2 separate regions of the Homo sapiens genome follow, and region 1 is linked to region 2. Evidence: promoter capture Hi-C in 16 types of primary human blood cells and fetal thymus (Javierre and others, 2016). All regions are on one chromosome and are shown on one strand. The core of a region is centred on a gene start or on the middle of the fragment in contact, and the rest is flanking DNA. Distances in the headings are between cores, read along the strand shown. Region 1 overlaps POLR2A (RNA polymerase II subunit A). Region 2 holds the start of SLC16A11 (solute carrier family 16 member 11).

The links. The method cuts DNA at HindIII sites, captures the fragments that hold promoters and counts their contacts. A CHiCAGO score of 5 or more calls a contact.
Region 1: a contact is called between a fragment that was not itself captured here and the fragment with the promoter of SLC16A11 in region 2, in 1 of 17 cell types (monocytes). The highest score is 5.3, in monocytes.

What each region holds. Positions count from the first base shown.
Region 1 is chr17:7,487,096-7,493,814 of GRCh38, reverse strand. All of the region lies in intron 1 of POLR2A (RNA polymerase II subunit A), which reads right to left. Among named protein-coding and RNA genes, the nearest start is that of POLR2A, 6.1 kb to the right of the region's middle. The HindIII fragment of the contact is 6,358 bases long and covers 1-5,930 here.
Region 2 is chr17:7,042,842-7,049,963 of GRCh38, reverse strand. SLC16A11 (solute carrier family 16 member 11) reads left to right here and starts at 5,872. Exons shown (of 5, transcript NM_001370549.1): 1 at 5,872-6,189; 2 at 6,445-6,652; 3 at 6,891-7,034. The coding sequence starts at 6,451. LOC124903909 (a long non-coding RNA gene) reads right to left here and starts at 6,897. Exons shown (of 2, transcript XR_007065598.1): 1 at 6,724-6,897; 2 at 2,384-3,782. RefSeq lists enhancers at 2,864-2,913, 2,984-3,053, 3,114-3,183 and silencers at 6,266-6,395, 6,466-6,525. The HindIII fragment of the contact is 13,319 bases long and covers 1-7,122 here.

The DNA.
Region 1 (6,719 bases), core at 1,502-4,001, 450 kb before region 2:
AGTCTACAACAGAGCGTTCCTATGGGTCACCAGCCTGTCTCTCTCCAATCCTTCTACATTACAACTGGGGTGCTCATTCTAAAATAAAAATGTGTGCTAAAAATAAATAAAATAAAAATTAATAATAAACTAAAAATGTAATCATTCATACCCTCTTGTCCTCAGACTGACATCCAAACTCAGCAGGACAGCTTCCCAAAAGGATTTTATGATGTTCTCAACCTTCATTTCCCTGATGCTCCACACCTTCCTGTTCACTCCTCAGTAACAATTCCCTGGAGTCGCCTATCACATCCAGCGCAACACGTGCTGCGTTCCTCCGGGGTTTTCTATATGCTAGTGCCTCTCTGCTTGGAATGCTCTTCCCACTGCAAAACTCCTATTTCAAGACTCGGCTCAGGCACTGCTTCCTCCAGGAAGCCTTTCCACAGCCTGCCCAAAGTAGACAGGCACCCCTCCTCTGTGCTTCCACAGCCCTCTATCACTGCACATACAACAATGCAATAAAATGACCTATGGGGGTCTGTCTTCCCTATAACTATAAGCACCTCTCAGGCAGGCAGAATGCCTCAACCATCCTGAATCCCATGTGCCTGCCTGAAACATGGTGGGCTCCTAACAAATGTCTGTTAAATTGACCTACTGCTTAGGACTCTCCACTGGAGGGAGGTACCCTCAAAAAACTTGGAAAAAGAGAGGTTACCCTCTGACAGTCAAACCAGTAATCCCCTCATAATAGGTCTGATTGGCCACTGCTGGGTAGAAACCAAAATGGTCTACAGATGCAAAGCTGAAGAAGTTCTGCACACCTCTCAGCCTCAGACAGGTTCAAAACTCTCATCAACATGACCTGATGAAATCTCAGGAAGACAGTCCTCATGGATGACTACATTTGCAAAGCTGGAACCTCATCAGCTGCATTGTCTGGTGAGAAACATGAAGGGGATTTGCTCACCTTGAATGAGACCAAAAAAAGCGGAAGCAGTTACGTATCTGGCCTCCACAACAGACACTGCAGAGGGGCCTAAGAGAAATCAGGCTCAACATTTTCAACCTCTTTCTGCTCAAAGTCTATGCCGACCAAGCCAACCACCCTTCTAATGACTAATTCTGCTTTCAGGCTTTCTGAGACCGGGTCAGGGGGTGTCCTAGACAGCAGACACGCATATCCTTGTTAATGAGAAGAGCTATCCCTCCATCACCAAGTTCACGAACTCTCATTTTTTATTTTATTTTACTTTTTTTTTTTGAGACAGGGTCTTGCTGTCACCCCGGCTGGAGTGCAGTGGTACAATCTCGGCTCACTGCCACCTCTGCCTCTCAGGTTCAAGTGATTCTTGTGCCTCAGCCTCCCAAGTAGCTGGAATTACAGGTGCTCACCACACTTGGCTAATTTTTGTATTTTTAGTAGAGACAGGGTTTCACCATGTTGGCCAGGATGGTCTCAAACTCCTGGCCTCAAGTGATCCACTCACCTTAGCCTCCCAAAGTGTTGGGATTACAGTCGTGAGCCACCGCACCAGGCCTCAAACTGTCATTTTAAATTAGCCCCCAACCCTTCGGCCAACAATGGTTCTCACTGCCTACAGGATAAAGGTTAAACACTTGAGGGGGTGGCCAGTCAGGCTGGGTTCTCTTTGGGTTCTGCCCCTGAGGCCACAATAACAAAAGGGCTGTCATTGAATCTCAGTAAATACTCGTCCTCTTTCCTCTGCTTTAGCAAAGCTAACAAGGTCCTTATTACAATTTGGCTTCAAGTTGCTTTTACAGCTTTATTTGGTACCACATTCTCCTACCCGCCTCCCACATTTATGTTCTAAATACAATAGATTTCTCAAATCTCCTTTTGCTTCACACACCCCCTTGGGAGTAAACTTCTATTTATTCTTTAAGACCCAGTTCAGAGGTCACCTCCTTATGAAGTCTTCTCTAACTCTTCCTAGTCTTATGCACACCCCAGCAAGGTTCTCAGCCCAATTTTAATTACTTGGTGACACATCTGTCTCTCTCATTGGACTGTAATCCTTGAGGGCAAGGGTCATGTTTTCTCTTCATATCCTCAGCACCTAGCACAGTAACCAACATATGGTTGAGGCTCAGTAACTATTTGCTGCATACATAGGAAATCCCTCACAAGATTATAGGTAACTTGAAAACAAGGATCATCTTCTCACTCATCAATGTAGCCCACACTCTACCTAAAAGAATACATTATTGACCAGGCGCAGTGGCTCAAGCCTGTAATCCCAGCACTTTGGGACGCCAATGCAGGCAGATCACCTGAGGTCAGGAGTTCGAGACCAGCCTGGCCAACATGGTAAAACCCTGTCTCTAATAAAAATACAAAAACTAGGCCAGGTGCGGTGGCTCATGCCTGTAATCCCAGCACTTTGCGAGGCCAAGGTGGGTGGATCACAAGGTCAGGAGTTCGAGACCAGTCTGGACAACACAGTAAAATCCCGTCTCTACTAAAAATACAAAAAAGAAATTAGCTGGGTGTGGTGGCGTGCTCCTGTAGTTCCTGCTACTCGGGAGGCTGAGGCAGAAGAATCGCTTGAATCCAGGAGGCAGAGGTTGCAGTGAGCACAGACTGTGCCACTATACTCCAGCCTGGGCAACAGAGCTGGAGTCCGTATCAAAAAAAAAAAGAACAGATTACTGCTTTAAATCCTTATTTAAATAAGTCAGGGTATAAATAAGTTATGCATTCCATGATAGACAGTTGTTTTTAATGAATAGGGGTCAACTACTGCGAAGGAAATCCAGCACCCTCTTTCCCCAAAATTTTGTGCACACGCTGGTACAAAGCTCTAGTACCAACCCGCCTTGTAACCTTCCCCTCACCTAGCAACATCTAAATCCATCTTCTAACAGCAAGGACAACAGCTCTATCTCAAAGCCAATTCAAAGACCCCTCCGTACCTCCATACACTCTGACCCCTAAGACTTCTGTAAAACATTTTAGCCTAAAATACCACCTGTTTCACAACAAGAGGCACCTTACTCACCCTCACCCATCCTTCTACCCAAAATTGAACCGTCTGTTGGTCCCTCAAAATACAGACATCGTATAAACTGCAAGACATGCAGAGCACTATCGAAGCCCAACAATCCTACACCCCAGAGATGACTCTGGTAGAGCTTTGTCAACAGTGTCCCATACTTTTATTTGTTATTATTCCATCTTGGGTCAGTACAACCTCCGCCTACCAGGTTCAAGTGGTTCATATGCCTCAGCCTCCCAAGTAGCTGGGATTACAGGCACCCACGACTACACCCAGCTGCTTTTTATATTTTTAGTACAGACGGGGTTTCACTAGGCTGGACAGGATGGTCTTGAACTCTTGACCCTCGGGGATTTGCCCACCTTGGCCTCCCGAAGTGCTGGGATTACAGGAGTGAGCCACCGTGCTCAGCCCATTTGTTATTATTATTTTTAAATTGAGATAGGGTCTTGCTGTGTTGCCCAGGCTGGTCCTGAACTCCTGGCCTCAAATGATCCTCCTGCCTCAGGCTCCGAAAGTGCTGGGATTACAGGCATGAGCCACGGCATGCATTTTTTTTCATGCTTTAAAAAAACCGTAAATACGTTCCCACTTTAACATAAGGCCTTCACTCTGCATACTTCTGAGTAACTTTTTCATTTATCCATAGATTCCCTAACATTATCAACAGCCCACAGTGCCCTTACCATTTCAGTAACTCTCACAGCACTTACTAGGTCAAAAGAGAGCCACAGCCGAGCGCGGTGGCTCACACCTGCAATCCCAGCACTTGGGGAGGCCAAGGTGGGCAGATCACTTGAGGTCAGAAGTTTGAGACCGGTCTGGCCAATGTGGTGAAACCCTGTCTCTACCAAAAATACAAAAATTGCCGGGCATGGTGGCGGATGCCTGTGATCCCAGCTGCTTGAGAGGCTGAGGGAGGAGAGTAGCTTGAACCCAGGAGGCAGAGGTTACAGTGAGCTGAGATCTCACCTCTGCATTCCAGCCTAGGCAACAGAGCAAGACTCCATCTTTCCAAGAAAAGACAGCAATTTATTAAGCACCTAGACCCAAACAACTTAAGCATTTATGTCCTAGGAACTTACTAGCCATTTGAGAAAATACACACAAGTTGAAAATACTATTAATATATTAAAACAAAATAACATTTTTATTTCTTTACCAAATAACCATCTCACTCACTTATGGCGCCTGTTAGGCACTGCACCTCTCAAACCTTGGAATCAGACTAAACAGCACCACCTTTATTTCTTCTACAAACTGATTTTTGCCTGTACTTAGCAACTGCTAAAAACCCAGTTTCACAAAAATATGACATTATAGAAAGGGATTTGGCACCATCTAATGTTGAAACAGAACTACCAGGAACTAGGAGTTCCAGGGTATCTGACAAATGTACCTGTGTTTCTCTTGGAAATTTAAAATACCTCACTGTGCCCACCGTGTGCCACAGTGTCTCAGGGCATCAGCACAGTGTGGGACCTTATTGGGAAGTTCCTCTATTACATTGTAAGAATACACCCTAAGTTATTCAACAGGATTCCTATTAGTAAATACCGAGTAATTTATAATTGTCACTTTCAAACAATGTTGCAATAAAAGTCCTTCTACATTATCTATGCATATTTGCCCAATTATTTCATTCACTTGTTTATTCAACTAATTTTTATTACATGTCTATCATGTGCCAGGCACTACCTGAGATACTAAGGGAACATGAATAACACAGACAAAGTCCCTCATGAAATTCATTCTCTAGCAAGGAAGCAAGAAACAGAAAAACTAATCCTTTCTGGAGTGACAGGCTGTGAAGGAAAATATAGCAGAGAATGATCAGAGAAAACAAGGGAAGGGCGGGGGATGCTATTTAAACAGAGTGGTCAGGGAAGCGCTCCTAAAGATATGACATCGGCCAGGCGCAGTGGCTCATGCCTGGAATCCCAGCACTTTGGGAGGCAGAGGAGGGGGATCGCTTGAGCCCAGTTCACCAGCCTAGGTAACATAGTGAGAACCCATCTCTACAACAAATTTAAAAATTAGGCATGGTGGTATGAGCCTGTTGTCCCAGCTACTGAGGTGGGGGTTGGGGGTCTGTCTGAGGTGGGAGCATTTTTTTTTTTTTTTTGAGACGGAGTCTCGCTCTGTTGCCCAGGCTGGAATGCAGGAGCGCAATCTCGGCTCACTGCAAGCTCCACCTCCCGGGTTCACGCCATTCTCCGGCCTCAGCCTCCCAGGTAGCTGGGACTACAGGCACCTGCCACCACGCCCTGCTAATTTTTTGTATTTTTAGGGGAGACGGGGTTTCACCGTGTTAGCCAGGACGGTCTCGATCTCCTGACCTCGTGATCCGCCCGCCTCAGCCTCCCAAAGTGCTGGGACTACAGGTGTGAGCCACCGCGCCTGGCCTTTTTTTTTTTTTTTTTGAGACAGTCTCACTCCGTCACGCAGGCTGGAGTGCAATGGCACAGTATCAGCTCAATGCAACCTCGACCTCCCAGGTTAAACTGATTCTCCTACCTCAGCTTCCCTAGTAGCTGGGACTACAGAGGCGTGCCACCACACCTAGCTAATTTTTGTATTTTTAGTAAAGACAGAGTTTCACTATTTTGGCCAGGCTGGTCTCAAACTCCTGACCTCGTTATCTGCCCACCTTGGCCTCCCAAAGTGCTGGGATTACAGACGTGATTGAGCCTGGCCAGGGAGCATCTTTTGAGCCCAAGAGGCTGCAGTGAGCTGGGATCGAGCCACTGCACTCCAGCCTGGGGGACAGAGGGATACCCCGTGTCCAAAAAAAAAAAAAGATATGCCATTTCAACACAGAACATACAGACATAAAGGAACAGGCATGCAGAGCAGAGGTCTGAGCAACGTTGTTCCAAGCAGGAGGAATAGTGAATAATAAAGTCCTTGAGGTGGGAATAAGCTTGCAGTGTTAGAGGAGCAAGCAGTCAGCGTGGTTCAAGAAAAGCAAAGAGGAGACTAGTAATGAGATGGAGAAGCAAGCAGGAGCCAGATAAAACAGCACTTTATAGGTCAGAGTAAGGAGTCCTGAAACCTCTGGAAAGGATTCTATGAAGGGAAGGGATGAAGAGATCTCTCTAGCCTGTTCTAGCTGTTCTTACAAACTGTAGGAAGACCAATTAGGGCTCTATAGCACCCCACAGGAAAGATGACAGTAGGGTGGGATATGGTGGGACATGGTGGTGGAGATGGTCATAAATGGCTGGATTCCAGGCATATTTTGAAAGGTAGGACTGACACTCTGGCAGATGGACTAAGTGGAGATTGTGAGAAAGAGAATCAAAGATGGCTTTTAGATTTTTGGCCTGAGCAAATGGATGAATGGAGAAACTATTTAATGAACCATGCAAGACTGGGAAAGGGGCATCATTGAGGGGATAATTAAGCTTTTTTAACCTAAGGATGAATTTTTATAAGTGGTAATGCTTGATCAAATGATTTACATATTAAAAGGTTGATAAAATTGTTAGACCAGAGGCCGGGCATGGTGGCTCATGCCTGTAATCCCAGCACTTTGGGAGGCCAAGGCGGGCGGGTCCTCTGAGGTCAGGAGTTCAAGACCAGCCTGGGCAACACGGCAAAACCCCATCTCTACTAAAATACAAAAATAGCCAGGCATCGTGGCACACGCCTGTAATCCCAGCTACTTGGGAGGCTAAGGCAGGAGAATCGCTTGAACCCGAGAGGTGGAGG
Region 2 (7,122 bases), core at 4,623-7,122:
ACTCCTTTGTTCAATGTTTCTCTCATTCAGTGATTCATCACTCACCTTTGGCATCTTTGTGTGTGAGAATTCCAGAAATCGGGCTGGGCACAGTGGCTCACGCCTGTAATCCCAGCACTTTGGGAGGCCGAGGCGGGCAGATCACGAGGTTAGGAGATCGAGACCATCCTGGCTAACACAGTGAAACCCCGTCTCTACTAAAAATACAAAAAATTAGCCGGGCGTGGTGGTGGGTGCCTGTAGTCCCAGCTACTCGGGAGGCTGAGGCAGGAGAATGGCCTGAACCCGGGAGGCCGAGCTTGCAGTGAGCCGAGATTGTGCCACTGCACTCCAGCCTGGGCAACAGAGAGAGACTCGGTCTCAAAAACAAAACAAAACAAAACAAAAACAAACAAACAAACAAAAAAAGTAGAATGAAAAATTCTGCATGAATTTTTAACATAAAACAAGATATTTCAAAGAAATTTCCCACATGCAAAAGGCGAACTCTCCTTGCGCCTCTGATTGTGGCATGACTCATCTCTCCTCTGTATTCAGCTTCCATTATTAGTGAGTATTAGTGAGTGCTACTTCATTGGACATTTTGGAGTAGTATCAGCCTCTGGAGGAATATCCTTAGCCTGGCCTTCAAGGCCTTTCAGACGGGACCCTCTGCCCAGCAGCTTAATCCTACATTATCCTCCTACACATGCTCGGTTCTCCACACAGCGGCTATTTATAGCTCCCCAAACAATAAACAATGTGCCAAGCTGGTTCATGCCTTTGTGATTTTCCACAAGCTGCTTCCTTTGCCTGGAACGCCCCTGCCCACAGATCCATCTGGCAAACTCCTACTCATCCTTCAAGACCCAGCCCAAGGGGCTCCTCTTCTGTGAAGCCTCCCAGCAGTCCTAAGAGGAATGAGTCAGTTCTTCCCATGCACCACTCTACGGTGTATGTGTCCCCGTCCTTGTGCTGAGAATTCTTTTCTTTATGTGATGATCCTCTGATTTGATTGTGGGGCTGGGAGGGGAGAGACTATATCTTATTCACATTTGTATCCCGAACCCTAAGCATAGCAGCTGGCACGCGGTAGCTGTCTATAAATATTTTGTATGAAGGACTGAATGAATAAAACTTATTTTGACTTTTTTCTTCTCTATTATTTTTTATTTATTTTTATTTTTGAGATGGAGTTTTGCTCTTGTTGCCCAGGCTGGAGTGCAATGGCGCGATCTCGGCTCACGGCAACCTCTGCCTCCCAGGTTCAAGCAATTCTCCTGCCTCAGCCTCCCGAGTAGCTGGGATTACAGGCGCCTGCCACTACGCCTGGCTAATTTTGGATTTTTAGTAGAGACGGGGTTTCTTCATGTTGGTCAGGCTGGTCTTGAACTCCCGACCTCAGGTAATCCACCTGCCTTGGCGTCCCAAAGTGTTGGGATTACAGGTGTGAGCCACTGCGCCCGGCCTTCTCTTTTGTTTTTAGAGTTAAGGCAGGGAGACCAGCATTTTCACACAAACTTTGGAAAATGCTAAGGGAAAAGAAAGAAGAAAAGCAGAAATTTCCATTGAATCTCTTTATAGCCATTCACATTTTCTAACCCATGTGGCTCTACTGAGAACTTACCAGGGCAATGTGGTGCCTTGACCTTGAGGCATGGGCAGAGGTAGCCAGGTGGGAAAGGGCTGCCGTGCTGTTAGGTCCAGCCAGGTTCCTCAACTCACAGCAATAGCGGCAATGGAGGCTGAGCGCGGTGGCTCACACCTGTAATCCCAGCACTAAGGGAGGCTGAGGTAGGTGGATTACTTAAGGTCAGGAGATCAAAACCAGCCTGGCAAATATGGTGAAACCCCGTCTCTAATAAAAATACAAAAAAATTAGCTGAGTGTGGTGGCGGGCACCTGTAATCTCAGCTACCTGGGAGGCTGAGGCTGGAGAATTCACTTGAACCTGGGAGGCAGAGGTTGTGGTGAACCTAGATTGTACCACTGCACTCCAGCCTGGGCAATAGAGCAAGACTCTGTCTCAAAAAAAAAAGAAAAAAAAAAAAAAAGAAAGAAAATAGCGGCAATGAGCTCTAACACGTATACTTTGGCACTGTTCTAAGTTCCTTACTTATATGTGTATTCACAGTGACTCATTTAATTCTTATAACAACCCATCAGGTAGCTACTGTTATTACCCCCATTGTAGAGATGAGGAAACCGAGGCACAGAGAGGTTGAGTCACACTTGCTCATAATCATATAGTTACTAAGTGGTAGAGTGTGGGCGAAAGATTACGTAGATGCCGAGGCAAGAGACTGAAGGCACAAACTGTTTCAGTGTAATAAAGAAAATAGAATAAAAATAGTCATAATACAAATGAGATATAGAGATGATCATGGACAATTATCAATCATTATTATAGACATTATTAATCATTAGCTTTTAATATTACTTTTTGTTGCATTACTAATATAACCTACGAATAACCGGCAGGTATAGGGTCAGGTGATGAAGGGACATTGTGAGAAGTGACCTAGAAGGCAAGAGGTGAACCTTCTGTCACGCTCGCATAAGGGCCGCTTGAGGGCTCCTTGGTCAAGCGGTAACGCTAGTGCCTGGGAAGACACCCATCACTTAGCAGATCGCGAAAAGGAGTGTCCTTTCCTTGGAGGAGTCAGGGAACACTCTGCTCCAGCAGCTTCTTGTGGAAGGCTGGATATTATCCAGGCCTCCCCGCAGTCATCCGGAGGCCTAAACCCCTCCCTGTGGGGCTGTGCTTCAATGCTCACGCTCCTTGTCCACTTTCATGTTCCTCCCGTACTCCTGGTTCCTCTTTGAAGTTCGTAGTACAGAGCGGTAGATGAAATAGTGAAAGTCTAAAGTCTTTGATCTTTCTTATCAGTGCATAGAAGAAAACGCTGACGTATGCTGCCTTCTGTCTCTACTTCGGCTACCTAAAAGGGAAGGGCCCTCCCGTCCTGTGATCACGTGACTTGCTGCACCTTGTCAATCACTTAGAAGATTCACCCTCCTTACCCTGCCCCCTTGTCTTGTATGCAATAAATATCAGCGCAACCAGCCGTTCGGGGCCACTACCGGTCTCCGCGTCTTGATGGTAGTGGTTCCCAGGGCCCAGCGTCTTTTCTTCTATCTCTTTGGCTTGTGTCTTTATTTGTTACAATCTCTCATCTCCGCACACGGGGAAAACACCCGCCAAGCCCCGTAGGGCTAGACCCTACAGTAGAGCTGGCATTCAACCTCAAGAAATCTAGCTTGGGAGTCCATTCTCCTAATCTCTGTGCTATTTTACCTCCGTGAGCAAAAGATGACAAGTTTTGCTAAGAATATAGGGAGCCTGAGGTAGAAGAGGAATGTGCTCTTTCACAGCCCTAGTCCCAGGCTCTGGGATACCCTTCTGGCTTCGTAAGCATCCTGCGAAGGTGCGCAGCATCACTTAGCACAACTCCCAGATGCGGAGGGCCCGGTCTTCGCTCTGACTGTCCTGCATTTCTGCGTCACCATGGGGAGACAGTGATTCGTTTAGCTTGGAGCAGAGTCTTCAGCAGCCTTCTCAGGAAGCGGGATCCCTGCCCTCCCCGGTAGCTGAGGACCTGCTGGCTCCGCCTCCCTGGTGGCTTTCATAACAGCACTCCAGGCTGGGGAAACCGGTGGGGCCACTTTCCTAAGGTGTGTCTGTCAGGACCTTCATGAACAACAGGACGTTTCAAGCAGAGAGCATGACATATGCAAAAATTAAGGAGTGAGAAAAAGCTAGGCATGTCCACAGAGCAGAGAAGACAGTGGCTGATGGGAGGCTGGCAAAAGGGAGAGAGGGGAGATGGTTTGGAACGGTAACCTAGGTCTACCTTTGATTATTGTAAAAGACCTGTACAAATAGAGAAATGTAATTTTTCCCGTCTATAGGCAATGGAGAGCCATTGCCTATAGTCATGCTGTGTCTTTTATGTTTACAGTTTTGCTCCTTAAGAAGCTGTTTTTCTTGTCTTTACGTGCAGATTCTTTCCCAATAATTAGGAAACACTGCCATCATGTGGCTCAATGGATGCATGCTCCAAACTTAAGTTGCTGAATGTTCTATCATATTGTTTAATAATTAAACCAAAGAACACATCTCTGAATTCAAAGAGCTGAGGTAAAGAATGTCAACCTATCAAAAAAGGACATTTTCTATAAAGTTTTTCAAAAAATCAATACCTGGCTTCAATGACCTGATTTTTTACTTTGCTTTTAAAATTGTAACCTGGCCAGGCATGGTAGACTGTAATCCCAGCACTTTGGGAGTCCGAGGTGGAAGGATTGCTTAAGTCCAGGAGCTTGAGACCAGCCTGTGCAACATGCTGTGACCCCCTCTCTACAAAAAAAATGAACAAATTTAGCCAGGCATGGTGGTGTGGAGCCTGTAGTCCTCGCTACTCGGGAGGCTGAGGTGGAGTATTGCTTGAGCCTGGGAGGTGGAGGCTGCAGTGAGCCATAATGGCAGTACTACACTTCAGCCTGGACAAGACCCTGTCTCTATAAATAAATACACACACACATACATACATACATACATACATACATACATACATACATACATAATAAAAAATAAAATTCTAACCTAAGTGTTTAGAGATTCTGATCTCAAGAATCCTTTCTATTCCCAGTGACCCCTTATTTTAGACTCATAAGTTTTCTGTCCCTGCAATGGTTCCACCCTTTCCAGGGCAGTTTGCTTCAAGCTGTATCCAGGATCTTTCCCTTAACTGTGCCAGATTTTGTTTCAGTCCTGGGATTGTTCTCCTTGTAGGTCCACAGTTGGACAGACCTAAATTCAAATATCCATACCATTTTTTCCCTGAGAGCTTCAGTTACTGCATCTATAAAAGAGGCACGACATCGGCCAGGCGCGTTGGCTCACTCCTGTAATCCCAGCACTTTGGGAGGCCGAGGTGGGCGGATCATCTGAGGTCAGGAGTTCCAGACCAGCCTGGCCAACATGGCGAAACCCCATCTCTACTAAAAAATACAAAAATTAGCTGGGAGTGGTGGCAGGCGCCCGTAATCCCAGCTACTCAGGAGGCTGAGGCAGGAGAATGGCTTGAACTTAGGAGGCAGAGGTTGCAATGAGCCGAGATCTCGCCACTGTACTCCAGCCTGGGCTACAGAGTGAAACTCCATCTAAAAAAAAAAAAAAAGAAAAGCGACACCTTCTTCATAGGGTTATCATAAGATGAAGTGATAGCATGTGTAAACGGTGCCTGGTACACTGCAGGTCTTCACATTGAGGGAGTCGTGTTTCATCCCTCTGTCCTTGAGGACCTGTTATTTTATTTTATTTATTTTATTTTTGTTTATTTATTTATTTTTGAGACAGAGTCTTTCTCTGTCACCCAGGCTGGAGTGCAGTGGCATGATCTTGGCTCACTGCAACTTCTGCCTCCCGGGTTCAAGCGATTCCCCGCCTCAGCCTCCCAAGTAGCTGGGACTACAGGCGCCCGCCACCACACCCGGCTAATTTTTTTTGTATTTTTAGTAGATATGGTGTTTCGCCATGTTGGTCAGGCTGGCCTCGAACTCCTGACGTCAGGTGATTCACCCACATCGGCCTCCCAAAGTGCTGGGATTACAGGCTTGCACCGCGCCCGGCCTGGGGGTCTGTTATTCTAAGCACAGAGCTGGCACTTGGTGGAGGTCTGTGATCTGATTGATATCCGAGATTTACCTGGTCCTCGGCAACGTTCCTGAGAACAAAACTACTCATCCCCTCAGGTTTTGGGGACCATCCCTATTTCCACGCGTTGGCGGTGGACCCTGGGCTCGCTGGGGTTTGCAATCCACGTGTCTCCCCTGCGCGCAGCAGGCGGCAGGTGCATGCGTGTGAGTAGGGCAGGGCCCCTCTGCATTCATTTCTCGCCGCTCCCCCCTCCCCCGGGCCTGGGGGTTGTGTGTGTACATAATTCAATCCCCGTGGGACTGGCGTCTGGCCTCACGCGCGGCTTGCCGGATTGGCTGTTTCAGCTCGCCCCCGCCCTCCGTACACCCCGCGTCCCAGGTGGCTCAGGCCCCTGTGGTGATCTCTGTTTACCGAGAGAGCCCGTCCAAGTTGGGCTCCATCGCTGCCCTCGCTCCCCTTCGGGGCCCCCGCCCGCCTGGGAAGCAGAGAGAAAGCCGGGCCCAGCCCTTCCTCACCCTTCCCCTCCCCGCACCGCCCGGAGAGGTCGGGTAAGGGGGAAGGAGTGTGCGTGGGACGGGGAACCTCGGGCCTGGGGATCTGGCTGTCCCCGTCCCCGTACCTCGCGCGGACCCGGGAGTTCCAGCCCTAGGCCAGGCTCCGGCTCCCTCCGCCCCGCGCCATCGCGCTCGGAGTGACGGGCCCACCCCGGGCGAGCAGCCAGAGGCTGGATCTCAGGGATGCCAGCTCCCCAGCGGAAGCACAGGCGTGGAGGCTTCTCTCACAGATGTTTCCCCACCCCGCAGACGGCGATGACCCCCCAGCCCGCCGGACCCCCGGATGGGGGCTGGGGCTGGGTGGTGGCGGCCGCAGCCTTCGCGATAAACGGGCTGTCCTACGGGCTGCTGCGCTCGCTGGGCCTTGCCTTCCCTGACCTTGCCGAGCACTTTGACCGAAGCGCCCAGGACACTGCGTGGATCAGCGCCCTGGCCCTGGCCGTGCAGCAGGCAGCCAGTGAGGGGGGCCCTGAGGCGGGAGACAGGAACGGGGAGGAGGAGCCGTGAGTGGAGGGATGGGAGACCCACCTGATTACCCGACAACCTGAGAAAGGGCAACCGGCTCTAGAAAAGAGTGCATCTTGAGGTCAAGGAGAAGAACCATTAGTTCGAGGGAGGCAAACAGCCAATGAGAAGTGTTGGAGAGAGTTTGGGGGCCCGGGGGCGTGTCTTCCGTTGACTCCGCCCCCTTTCAGGCCCCGTGGGCAGCGCCCTGAGCACGCGCTGGGGGGCCCGCCCCGTGGTGATGGTTGGGGGCGTCCTCGCCTCGCTGGGCTTCGTCTTCTCGGCTTTCGCCAGCGATCTGCTGCATCTCTACCTCGGCCTGGGCCTCCTCGCTGGTGAGGGAAGTGGGATGCCCGGGTCATTCAGGGTGAAGGAGGTGACAGGAGCTTGTTGGGATCTGGGGTAGCGAACGAGGCGGGGGCC